Linked DNA regions of Homo sapiens: region 1 is linked to region 2. Evidence: promoter capture Hi-C in human tissues and cell types (Jung and others, 2019). All regions are on one chromosome and are shown on one strand. The core of a region is centred on a gene start or on the middle of the fragment in contact, and the rest is flanking DNA. Distances in the headings are between cores, read along the strand shown.

Region 1 (5,983 bases), core at 2,436-4,935, 45 kb before region 2:
TAGTAAAATTATATTTAAAAAATATGGAACTTGATTTGTCCAATAGTTTCTAAGATTAGGCAATATCCCTAAGCATTATTTTTCTAATTCATGTCCAGGAACCTTTTTAAGTGAGAATCTACTAAGGTTTAAGAGTAATGAAGTGGGTAGGAATAAGCAAACACTGTGTATCAGGAAACTGAGGCATACGCCAGTAGTTCTTCATTTCTCAAAAGATGCAACTAATACCACTAACACATTTGAAACCTCCTTGAGCCACCCCAAACAATTCTTGTGCAACATGTATATGTCCAGATCATTCCTTTGCAATTATTTTTATATGCATTCGTATACAGAAATAAATGACCTTTTTTAGGTCTTTATATTTATATTATGCTGAACATTATTCTGAAGCTTATTTTTCACTTCATCTCGTCTGTGGTTGAGAACAAATGGCCAAGAGTTAAACCCCAATTCTGCCCCTTTATCACCTATGTTACCCCAGGCAAGTCACTCCAGTTCCTCTCTCAGTTTTTTTCATCTGGAAGATGGGAATAATGATAATATTATCTCTCTCATAGGGTTTTGTATGAAAGGTTTAAATGAAAATCTTTTAGAACAGTGTGTGATATACAACATAAAATCTATATGTGTTGGCTAGTTAGTATTATAAGATGCTATCATGTCCCTTATTCTTCTTAATTTCCAAATATTACTACAAATCCTGGAATCCCTAGGAATCTCCTTCATCTGGAAACCCTGGAGATCTTGTCTATCTCATGCCTTTAAATGCCATTCACACACTAACGGTTCTCAGGATTACGTCTTTGGTCCAGACCTTTCCCCTGAACTGCAGACTCACATATAAAAATGCCTATCCTAATAAGATGTCTAATAGACATCTCAGACACACTATGTCTAAATCTGTACTTCTGACCTTCCTCCCAGCCAGCCACTCACTTGCTCTCCTTGTTGATCAGGCTAACGCCCTTGGAATTCTGTCCTACTTTTTTCTGTCTCTCTTTCCACATCCTATTTATCTGTCAGGAAATACTGGTGGCCCTATCTTCCATATATGTACATCCAGCATCCAAGCTCTTTTCACATCAACCTTCACAGCTCTGGTCACAGCTACAATCATTCTTACTTGGTTATTTACAATAGCCTCCCAACTGCTTCCCCTGCTTCCACCCGTGCCCTCCCTTTAGTGCGTTCTCTACACAGCATCAACATGATTCTATTAAAACATAAAGCTGGGCATGGTAGCTCATGCCTGTAATCCCAACACTTTGTGAATCCAAGGCAGGAGGATTCCATGGGCCCAAGAGTTCAAGATCAGCCTGGGCAGTGTAGAGAGACCCCATCTCTACTAAAAATTCTTAAAAATTAGCTGGGTGTGGTGGCGTGTGCCTTCAGTTCCAGCTACTTGGGAGGCTGAGGTGGGAGGATGGCTTGAGCATGGGAGGTCAAGGCTGCAGTGAGCTATGATCACTCCACTGTACTCTAGCCTGGGCAATGAAACAAGACCCCATCTAAAATAATAATAATAAAGCAGACACATCAGTCTTCTGCTCAAAACTCTGCAATAGCTCCCCCTCATTCAAAGTTAGAGCCAAAGTCCTCACAACACCTACAAGCCTTACCCGCAAAATTACCTTTTTGCTCACTTTACTAAGTTAGATGGCCTCCTTGCTGTTCCACAAACCACCAGGCATGTTTTCACCACAGGATCTTTGCACTTACTTGAACTAAAAGTAGATGCTTTTTCTCCAAATATCCACAAGATTGCTTCCCTCTCATCCTTTAGGGATTTGTTCAAAGGTTACCTTCTGATTGAGTCCTCCCTGATCATACTATTTAAAATTGCAAACCACCTTTCACATGTCCCTACCTTGACTCTGCATTTCCTGTTGTCTTTTTCTCCATAATATTTATTACCATTTTTCTTAGTACTTTACTTTTTAAAATTTTGTTTCTTGCCTATATCCCACCTACTAGAATGTAAGCTCCCAAGGGCAGATGTTTTTCTTTGTTTAGTTCAATGCTTTATCTTCAGTGCCTAGAAGAGTGCCTGACACATGCTAGCTACTCACAGATATCAATAATAATAAATATAAATAAATATTTGAAAAATAAGTAAGTCAAGGCACTATAAGTTATTCATCCATTATTCCCTTGATGAGTAAAAATGTAAATTGTTTCCTAAAACATATACATCTATATGAGGGTTTCCCTAGAATATATATCAAAAAGTGGAAAGGCGGGGTCGAATATTTGTACAAATTCATTGTAACACTACCCATTAAGCTTCCAAAAAGTCTGTAAAAACTTATATTTTCTTTTTCTTTTCTTTCTTTCTTTTTTTTTTTTTTTTTTTTTTTTTTTGAGATGGAGTCTCGCTCTATCACCAGGCTGGAATGCAGTGGTGCGATCTTGGCTCACTGCAACCTCCACCTCCCCTATTCAAGTGATTCTCCTGCCTCAGCCTCCTGAATAGCTGGGACAACAGGCACGCTCCACCATGCCCAGCTAATTTTTGTATTTTTAGTAGAGACAGGGTTTCACCATGTTGGCCAAGATGGTCTCGATCTCTTGACGTCAGCTGATCCACCCGCCTTGGCCTCCCAAAGTGCTGGGATTACAGGCGCGAGCCACAACGCCCGGCCGACAACTTATATTTTCAAAGAACAGTATATAAAAGCACTCCTTCAAAATTCACCTCTCATAATTGTATATTTTAATCTACAGTTCCTTTTGCTTGGAAGGTCCTTTTTGCCCTCAACCACCTGTGTCTCCAGGGTGAAATTCTACACATCTTTCAAAACCCAACTCAATCACCATGTCCCGGAGGTAATCAGTCTACTCTTCCCATTCTGAGTAGGGCCCAGAAATCTGAATTTTTATTCAGCACCTCAGATGATTCTAACTTTATTGATTCACAGAACACACTTTAAGGAATATAGTTATTAAGAAATACTAAGGCAAATATACTAGGACCAAGCATTGAAGACATATATCGTTACATACTACCAACCATTTCAATCATTCTTATAGGCAGGTATGTTACAATCTTCGTTTATTAGATAATCTTCCCAAAAACTCATGAATATAAGCTAATTCACTTAGTAAAGTACACCTGAGATTAAAGAATTTATTGACTATAACTTATCCCAGTTAAATTAAGCCAAATAACTCAGATAAAGTTTCTTGTTATATTGCTATGTCTCAACTTGCTGAAGTATGAGTCAGAAGAGCTTATGCAGCTTTCAGATGGGAAGAAATAGGGGCATATGGGAAGGGAGCATGTTGTCCAGTAACTGCATACACCAGACACACAGAATAGCTGGAAAAGATGATCTCATCAATCCCCATTTTATAAAGGTGAAAACTAAGGTTTAGAGTGGTCAAGAAATTCACTCTAGGACATACCCTCTTAGTAACTGGTGAAATAAAGATATTTTTACCTAGGTCTTTCTGGCAACAAAATTCATGGTTTTTTCCCAATATGCCAGATTGCCTCCCATATACCCCCAAAAGTACAACTGTGTGTGTAAAAAATAATTTGTGTTTCTTGAAAAATGAGAATAATAGTAGCTCACACATGAGAAGTTAAGCAAGTAAGCCTAAAGTGCTAAGTGTATCACCTGCCACTCAACAAATCTTGGTTATTATTCGCTACTGTTAATATACTGCAGTGTAGTCAAGTGATCAATATAGACATCTAAAATTTCCATTCTTGTAAAACCAGAAATAAAACTCAGTACGCTTATGTACCATGGGCCAAGCCTGTAAAAGCTTGGAATTAGACTTAAATTGTGTTAATAAACAGAAATTCAGCTTGTGTTTATTTGGTGTTGCATAACAGTTATCTAAGTAAAATCTTCAGGGAACTAGTAAATTGGCATTTTGTGTGAGAATAGAAATTTGTGATGTTCTTATCCAAGTTAGGAAACTTCTCACATGTTCTTTCTACTCTGAGTAACAATACATGCAACATGCAATATTACATGTATCTATATAACAAGATTGCTTATTTAATATTACAATTAGTCTCTTAATTTTTTATTCTCCATGTGATGCCTATCACAGGTTTGCCTTTTTACAATAATGGATTTAGATACTGTAAGTAACCATGATTACAGTAAATTGGTATTTGTTTTCATAGGAAAAGATCTTATAAAATGTTAATGGTAGAACCAAAGTTAATGCTATTGTAAAAATACAAAGATATATGTGTACATTGATGTATCTTTAATAAAGATACTGTAAGAAAAATGTATTACACCATCGTTTTCAAGTAGTCTAAAATTTTTTTTCTGGTAAAACCTATTATTCACCAGAAGATGTAATTAAGCAACTGAATTAAAATACTGCTTGATCTGGTTAATTTTAATGTATATGTGCTACATATTTAATATGTTTGGATTAAAGAAAATTATTATTTAACTTAGGTTTGAGAAAGCATGTAAGTGTATTTATTCTGACACTAAATTTTGAAGAAAGAGACATTATATTTATACTTCATCAAGCGGTAATGACTATGGTGTCCTGTGACTTTTGGGAAAGCTGAAGTATTCTGAGATCTATTTTTCAGAAAGATAATATATGATTTTGAATTAAGTCAAGAAAATAACAGTCAGTGTTATGAAGTTACCATTCTTGTTGGGATGCCAATAACATAAATCAGCTGTCTGAGATCCATAAACCATACAAGAAGGCCTCAAAAGTGTGTTAGCCCCAACTTCAGAAGCAAGCTTATCTAATACAAAGCATGTGTAAAAGCAAACAAATAATTCATCTTTAGTTTCCAATTATTTTAATATCTAAACTTTCTTATTAGAAATAATTCTAAGAGGAGTAAAATTTTCATATTCTTAGCTACTGTTAAATATAAATTATTTTCATCCATCATCTCAAAATACCTTGGAAAATGAATAAAAGCTATTCAAGACCTAGTTCATTTATTTTATTTTATCTAACTTTATTTTCCATGCAATGTGTTTCTTCGCTTAACTTTCAAATTGTAAAATGTTATAATAAAGCAAATTTATATTAGAACACTAGGTTGCTTTTATAAACAGCAAGTTTCTCAGTTGTCACTATGGAGGACAAATGGAGTATCAAATTAAATTTTTCATATTTATTTTTTTATAAGACCCACACTTACATTTCGGTGACTTTCATTCAAACTCACTACTGCTGAATTGCAAAATGTTGTCTTTGTCCTTAAGACCATGACAGAGAACTTTATCTGCATTCAAATTGCCTGCTGGTTTGTGGTATTTCAATAATAAAACAGCAGGATTGAAGGCTCATGATGAGAAATCTGACTAATTACCTGTTAGATGATAGATGGTTGTAACTCGGCAGTGCCAGTCGCTGAAAACAAAACACTTCCAGATATCAATCAGCTTCCTGACAAATCCAATTTCCCTCACATTCAGTGGACAATAAATGGGAATTTTACCCCTACATCTACATAGCACAGAGTTTTAACTTTAAAATATGCATAATGATATTTTAATAAAGTACATTTTTAGGTAACTTAGTATTTAAATACCTGACATATTCATATTTCAAATCTCTCAACTCTTAAAAAGATACATGGTGGAAATAATTGACATTGTAAATCTGTATTGTATTCCATTGCAGAGGGTAAGGTGTGCTTAATAGTAGTTTCCCTATTTTCTTTCTACATTTACATTTAACTCAAATTATTTGCAACATCTCTAATGGCTGTGTTCATTCTTTTTTTTTTAATTTTGTAATAAATGAATTGGATGAACATTCTACATGAGATTCAAAAAACAGAATGCCTAATTAATACTGCCACATACCAGCATGTGGGCAGAGTTAAAGCAAAGAGAGATCGAAGCATGGAAATTGAAAGCAGGCCCAGAGAAACACCTTGTTCTCCCTTATAAGGAGTGATTACATCATCAACATTTGAAAGTTATGGTTAACTCTAATAAGTTATAAAATTCAATATCTTATTCTGTGTTAA
Region 2 (6,723 bases), core at 3,157-5,656:
TCGCGCGGACACTCCTCCCAGAAGCAGATGTGATTACTCTGCTCCGGGCCACCTACGTGCTCCACGGTGACGTGCGTAACTAGCTCGTGCATGGTGCTGAAAGTTTTGTTGCACGACTTTTTGGGGTTGGCCAGCTGCTCGGGCTCGATCCACTTGCAGATGAGCTCTTGCTTGATGGGTTGGCGCATGTAGCGGAAGAAGGCGCCGGCGCCGTGATGCGCGGCCATGTTCACGTTCATGGGCCCGTAGCCGTGCAGCTGCGGCGCAGCATAGTGCTCCGAACGCGGGCTGGTCACCTGGCCGTACTGCTCCGGTCGCGGGTACATGTCCCCCGAGAAGCCGAGCCTCATCTGCCCGTTGACCACGTTAGGCGACGCGTGGCCGGCAGCCTGCTCGTGAAGCCCGGGGAAGAGGAGGTGGCCCGCGGCGTCCGTGTGGCCGTGTGGGCCCCCGAAGCCCCCGGCCGATGCAGCAAAGAGGCTGTGCTGTGCGCTGGCTGCCGCCGCCGCGTCGCCAAAACCCCGGTTGCGGAACAGAAAGTCCCGCGTGGAGTTGAAGGCTGCGCTGGAATAGGAGCCGACGTGGCCCGGGTGATGGTGATGGCCCAGGGCCGCAGCAGCCGCGTAGCCTGGCGCCTGCGACGTGAAGGCCGTCTGGCCGGCCGAAGCCAGCTCGTGCGAACTGGGGTTGAGCTTGAAGGCGCCCATGCCGTCGGCGAACGGGTTGATGCCCAGGCCCACGTCTCGTTCGGCCACGTCGCCCGCGGAGTGGTGGCGGGACGCGCCAAAGGTGGTCACGCCGATCGCTGGGTACTGGGGGCCGGCGTCCAGGAGCATCGTGGCTGCTCGGGGCGAGCCCCGGCCTCCCCCGCCCCCCCCACCCTCGCCAGCCGAGGAGGGAAAATCGGGAGGAGGAGGAGGAACAAGAGGAGGAGGAAGAGGAGGAAGAAGAGGAGGAGGGAGGGGGAGTCGACCCACCTCGCGAAGTCCTAGCCTGCAGGCAATGGCGCGGCGCGCCCGGGCGCTGGCCGGGCCAAACGCAAAGTAGCCGGACGGCTGCGGGCCGCGAGTAACGCAGGCTCCAGCGCCCGCCAGGCAGATTCTGCCGGCCCGGCTCGCACTTTCTCGCCGCTCAGTCTCTGCCGAGAGGGCCGCGCGTCAAGGCTGCCCGGGGAAAGGCATGGAGCATCTCAGCCCCCTAAAAAAAAACTTCCTCCTGGATTTGTAGCATAGAGGAATGTGAGCGCCAGTGCCGCGACTGCTTCGCCCTCTCTCCGCCTCGCGCAGCGCGCCCCTCCTTACTTCTCCACTAGCCCCTCGCCCTTTCTTTTCTCTCTCTCTCCTTTCTCTCACGCTCGCCTCCTCGCTCCTTCACTCTCCGTTTTTCCCTCTCTGCTTTTTGAAAAAAAAAAAAAAAAAAGTGGGTGGGGGGGTGAAGAAAGAAAGAAAAAGCCAAAGAAAAGGCGCAAATCATGCACAATATTGTCTTTTGCGGTTTATCTTCCTGGGGAGAAACTTTCACCTCCTCAGCCGGGCGGTGAGCGCGAGACTGATAGCAGCAATCATTCCTGCAGATAAATGAATTGAAAGGACGACACCGTCCCCCCCTTGATGAATGGGAGCAGGGGGGAGGTGTCACGTGCTGCCGACGCTGGCGCCCATTGGTGCGCCCGCATTCCCCCCGCCCTCAGCCGCCGCGCCAACGGAGGGCGCGCCGAGGCGCCGCGCGCAGCTCATTGGCCCGCCCGCCTCATCAATCCCAGGTATTGTAAAGCGCTTGACATCCCCTTTTGACAAACCAGGGCTGCCAGGAGTAGCAACTTTTTTTTTAGCCAAATTTTTTCCCTCTTCTCACGGAAATTTTTTTTCTTTTTTCTTTTCTTTCTTTCTTTTTTTTTTTTTTTTTTTTTTTTTGCCACGATTACTTTTCCTTCTCACAGTCATATGCATTCCTCTTCCTCCTTTGCCCTCCCGCACCCCGGCGCTGCCCTTCCCGAAACCAACTTTTCGCTGAGCGATTAGAGACTTCAGACGTCTCCGGGTGCAGCAGGCGGGGATGGGGCTAGTAAACACAGCAAAGGCACTTCCAGAATGTCCCGATTCAGCAACTTTCTTTTCTTTCTTCCCCCTTCCCCCCTCCCTTCAAGAGCAGCAAAAGAGGCTTTTGTTATTTGCTCCTTTTGAAGTTTGTTTCCCTCTTGCTTTGTCCCCCTCCTGTTTATAATTTAAGATCTTGGGAGCACACGGGCACTATGCTCTCTTTACAAAAAAATGTAATTTCTCAGTGTAACCGGCAGCCTCTGTATTTCTCGCTTTTATCTAATCAGACTTCCGGCACCACCGCACCCCCCTCCCCGAAAACACACACACACACACACTCACACACACAGGTGGATGAAAGCGCTTAAGTTCCCAGGTTATTGAGGTTTGAATTTTTTAATGGCAAATTTGAAACGTTGTTGCCAGTTTCCTTTACTTTTTCTCTCTCTTGCGTTATTTTTCTGTTTTCTGCCTTTCCGTTGTCTCCTTCGACTGCCCCCGCTAACCCTGTCTCTCCTCACTCCTGTTCCCTACTTGGGCCCCTTTCATTCAGGTAAAACTGTAAATTTCCCAACGCGCTATTGTTCCCTTGGGCTGCCCAAAGCTCCCTAGAGATCCCCGAATACTTTTTCGGTATTTAAATCCCCAATAGATAGGACCAATGTAAATTTTGTGACATTCAAACCTTTTCTAGTTCACAAATCAGTCACCCTTGTCACAGTTATTGAAATTCCGCAACTCGCCACACCAGGACGGTGGAAAAAGCGGGCGCGGTCTTTGTTGCCGACCAGGCTTTTGATCGCCAGAGAAAATTTACTTACCTTCAGATGAGTGAGCAGAAAAAGAAATAACACTCCCTTTGATTTAGTTAGGAAAATGCAGACATTTGGATTCAGTGCAAACATACAACACTCGCTTGTTTTCGCGATGCGGCCCTCGATTAACCTGTCTTTGCCTAGCGCAAAGTCTATTCAACAACTGCGCGTAGTTTCTTTTTGTCCCTTCCACAAAGAGCCATTGACTATATATTAAAATGATTGTTGAAAGGTAGGGGAGTATGGTACTTAAAAGCAGGAAAAAAAAATCCCTGTGACTCAATCAATTAAGCCGAGCAACATTTATGCATTTCAAAAAATGCACGCGGATGCGGGGGGTTGTGGGGACGAAGGTTGCATTTCTCCGCAGCTCTGTTTAAAACCCAGCAGTCCTGGCCGAGGCTTTAGCTGAAGCGTCTGCATATTCATTAGGTCTAATTATTTTCTAGTAAGGAAAACACAAAAAGCCAAGAGTCGGAATCCTTCAATTTACCCTTTGTTTCTAACTTCATTTGGCTTCTTTGCAGCTGAATCAAAGCCCTAAACTCTTTTTCCAAACAAAGAAACCTCAACTCATCCTTTCATAGGCGGCCCGGTTAGGAAACTCACCGTGCCCCAGCGAGAGGAAAATGAAAATGAATATATTTTTTGCCCTGACGCCAGCGCTGACTGCACGGGCTGGAGGAAGGCAGGGTCAGCGTCCGCCGCTCCTCGCCTTTCTGGTTTTCTGGTCTTCTCACCAACTAGATTCTCGCTTGGGGCTGGCCGGCGGGACTGCCCTTTCCATGGGCTGTGCTTGCTCAAAAGTCGGCTTGGGTATCCGGGATGATTTCCCGGTGCCTGAAGGGACCTGGCTGAGCATTTGTGCTTGTGCCGGGAAATATAAATTCGGAAAAAAAATTAATTGTTCTGTTCCCATCAACAAGTCTGAGTCTAGCAGCCCAGCATTTCCCACCAACTTTGAGTGGAATGGAATGAGGAGTGGAGGTAAAGAAAGGGCCGAGGTATCTTTAAAAATTATTGTACACTTGGTTGGAAAAAAAAAAGATATATCGGAGGCACTAAGTCTTTTTACCTACAAGGGGAAGTTGGATCCTGCTTCCCCTGGAGTTTAGAAAACCTCATCTGTATGGAGAAGTTTTCTCTAGAGGCTGTATTCCTCTCACTAGGGAGAACAGATATTGAACCCACCTCGCCCGCCTTTCAGGAAACACACGCGGGCGCACACACACACACACAACAAGGGAGGGGACCTAAGGGGGGAAGGGTAGCTGTTGGGAGGGGGAGAGGGAAAATAATTCTTCAAAAAAGAAAAGTCAGTCTTCTCCTCTCCAGTCCGTGGAAAATCCAACGGGGACGTTGACAAGAGGGTATTTTTAGGAAACACATCCAAATATACAGGGTAAGAGTGAATGTGAGAAAAAAAAAAGTTGTGGGTTGTAGAAGTTATCAAGTGGGATTTGCGGCGCTCTCTGCAGGAAACGCGAACGGCTCCAGTTCAAAGCCACATGCACCAACGTGACATATAAGCCATTAAAATATCATCCTGACGGCTCATTTCTGCTTCATCATACATTCCCTAACTGCTTCCTGAAAGCTGGAAAAGGAGAAGTGAAGGATGACCGCCTCGCTGGAACCACAAAAGAGAGGCTTGGAGGGGTTTGTGGTCCCCTCTCAGCCACCCCGAAATGATGTGCAGAAATGAGGCGATCCTGGCAACAGGTGGAGTGGGGTAAGTGCGTGAGTCCAGGGGGCAGACAGATGAGAACTGTACCTCCAGCGACCGGGTAGCAAGTACCCTCAAGGGGACCACTGGCACCCAAACCCCAGTGGGGGAAGAGGCCCAGCCAGTCTTTCTGCCCCATCTCCTCCTTCATCCTACCCCCCTCCCCCAACCGTGGATAAAGGCCCCACCCCACTGACACTAAGGGGAGGAGGGGGCCCTTCCGCAAAGGGGCAACGCAGAGGATGAGTCCATCCCTTCTTCCCAGGAGGAGGGAAAAGGGGTACAAATGGGGCTCCCACTGGCACAGGAACCAGGAGCAGTTTGTTGCCTGCCTGCCTTCCCTTCTCTCCTTGTGAATTGCCTGGGTGCCCCACCGTGGGCACAAGAATGGAAGTCGTGGCCCAGAGCTTCCCTCGCGAAAAATGAGCAAGGCGGGTGCCGGGAGGGGGCCTTTACAGGAGGTATCTCTGCTCTGCCCCCAAGGGGGTGGCTAGGAGAGTCTCTGCTTCCCCTCTCCAGGGTCAAAGCGCCAAGTTAGCCCAGATGGCAGCAAGACGATGGAACTTCTCCGCCCCAACCTGACGGCAGATGCCGCCTGAGTCCACCTCAGGGCGGCTCCTTGCCCTCCCTCACCCTGGTCCTGCCTCAGGAAGCTGACTGCTGGGATCTGCTCTCTGCGCGCGGCCAGCAGTGGGTTCGGGACTTGGCTTTCTTTATCTCCAATGCGAACAAGAGCAGCAACTAGCTCTCTGGGGAGCAGGCCGCAGCTCCTAGGATTCTGGCCCCTAGCCTAGACCCAGGGGCATTGGAAATTAGGGGCCAATGAGGAGGGAATAGAGCTGAGCTGTGAAAGAAAGCTAGGACTGGCTCAAAGGTTGGATCTGAAAGTTGGGGTTGATGAATGGCCCATGTCAAAGTCTTAGGAAAGCGGAGGGGCTTTTGGAGGGTTGCACTTCGGCCGTCACCGTCTTCAGGAAACTCCCTTTGGATTCCAAGGTCATGTTTTCCCCGCTTTCCGACAGTATTGTCCTCGCAGCGACCCACACCACTGCATGCTGCTCTTTTTTCTCCTGTCTCAGCCGCCTGCAGGTTGGGGGAGGGGTGATTCAAAGGGAGGGCTAAATGCCCAGCCTGATCTACTGATACAAACTCTATTCTGGGCACCCGGATGCTGCCCACACTTACTTCAGCCCCGAGCTGGGAAACCCAAGCTTCTCCCTCTAGAGAACAGGAGAATGAGTAAAGGCCCCTGCACAACCCAGCCTCAGCAAACTCCTGGCGCTTGAGGGTCGAATGGAGGGGAGCCAGAAAGGTGCAGGGTGCAGATGAGTAAATCAGGCAGCGGGCAAAGGCCGGGGCCAGTTTCCTCTCTGGCTCAGAGCTCCCTGCCAGCTTTCAGGGTTTTTGCTCTGCGCCCGCCAGGGACAAGTTGCAGCGGAGAGGTGGGCATGCCTTTCCCGCGCCTGCCGGCTAGTCAGTAAGGAGCAGCTCGGGAACTGAAGTCTCTAGCTGCAGCTGACCTCTGACCTTGGGTAGTCCTGCGCCGGCTAGGTCGGCCCCACAATTTGCAGCTTCCGAGGCTCCCCCAAATAAAAATGGTGCTTTTTGCACCTACCCACTGTCCCACCTTCTTGGCTCTCCTCCGGCACTATCAATCACTGGAGCTCCCTGGCACCCGTTCCTCTTCTCAAGGTGGGGCCAGGAGGGCAGATTCCAAAAAGTCTCCAGGATGTGCTATGGACTGGTAATTAGGAGGCCGTGGTTGATGTGGGGAGCAAGCATTTGGGGAAAACGAAACTGAGTTTCTACATTCCGTGGTTGTTTGGGACCTCAGGTCCACGGGCCCCAGGATTGCTCCCAAATTCTCTCACCTCTCTTTCAGCAAGATGACTGGCTTGTTTGCTAAGTGGTGTCAGAGTTTGAACTAAAGGAGATGTTTACCCTAGTTCCCTGTGTAGGCTGTGTGATGGAAACGCTACAGAGAGCCTCCTAAGGTCCCTGTTGCCTGCCCTAGTCCAATCTCTGCAATATTTGTTTGCATGTCTATGGGTCTGTAGTGCACAAAAGGCTGACAGGACCTGGGAGAGAAGTGATCCAGACCTCTTAGAAGTTGGGTTGGGGCTGCCTTATGGGTGGACAGGGA

What was found. The method cuts DNA at HindIII sites, captures the fragments that hold promoters and counts their contacts. A contact is called where the count stands out against the background at its distance.
Region 1: a fragment that was not itself captured here is called in contact with the fragment with the promoter of ZIC4 in region 2 in 2 of the 25 tissues and cell types used here (ovary and pancreas).

What each region holds. Positions count from the first base shown.
Region 1 is chr3:147,449,206-147,455,188 of GRCh38, reverse strand. All of the region lies in intron 1 of LOC440982 (a long non-coding RNA gene), which reads right to left. Among named protein-coding and RNA genes, the nearest start is that of ZIC1, 43 kb to the right of the region's middle. The HindIII fragment of the contact is 4,689 bases long and covers 1,341-5,983 here.
Region 2 is chr3:147,404,226-147,410,948 of GRCh38, reverse strand. ZIC4 (Zic family zinc finger 4) reads left to right here and starts at 4,406. Exons shown (of 5, transcript NM_032153.6): 1 at 4,406-4,586. ZIC1 (Zic family zinc finger 1) reads right to left here and starts at 1,584. Exons shown (of 3, transcript NM_003412.4): 1 at 1-1,584. The coding sequence starts at 836. RefSeq lists enhancers at 1,397-1,977, 2,400-3,590. The HindIII fragment of the contact is 11,475 bases long and covers 1-6,723 here.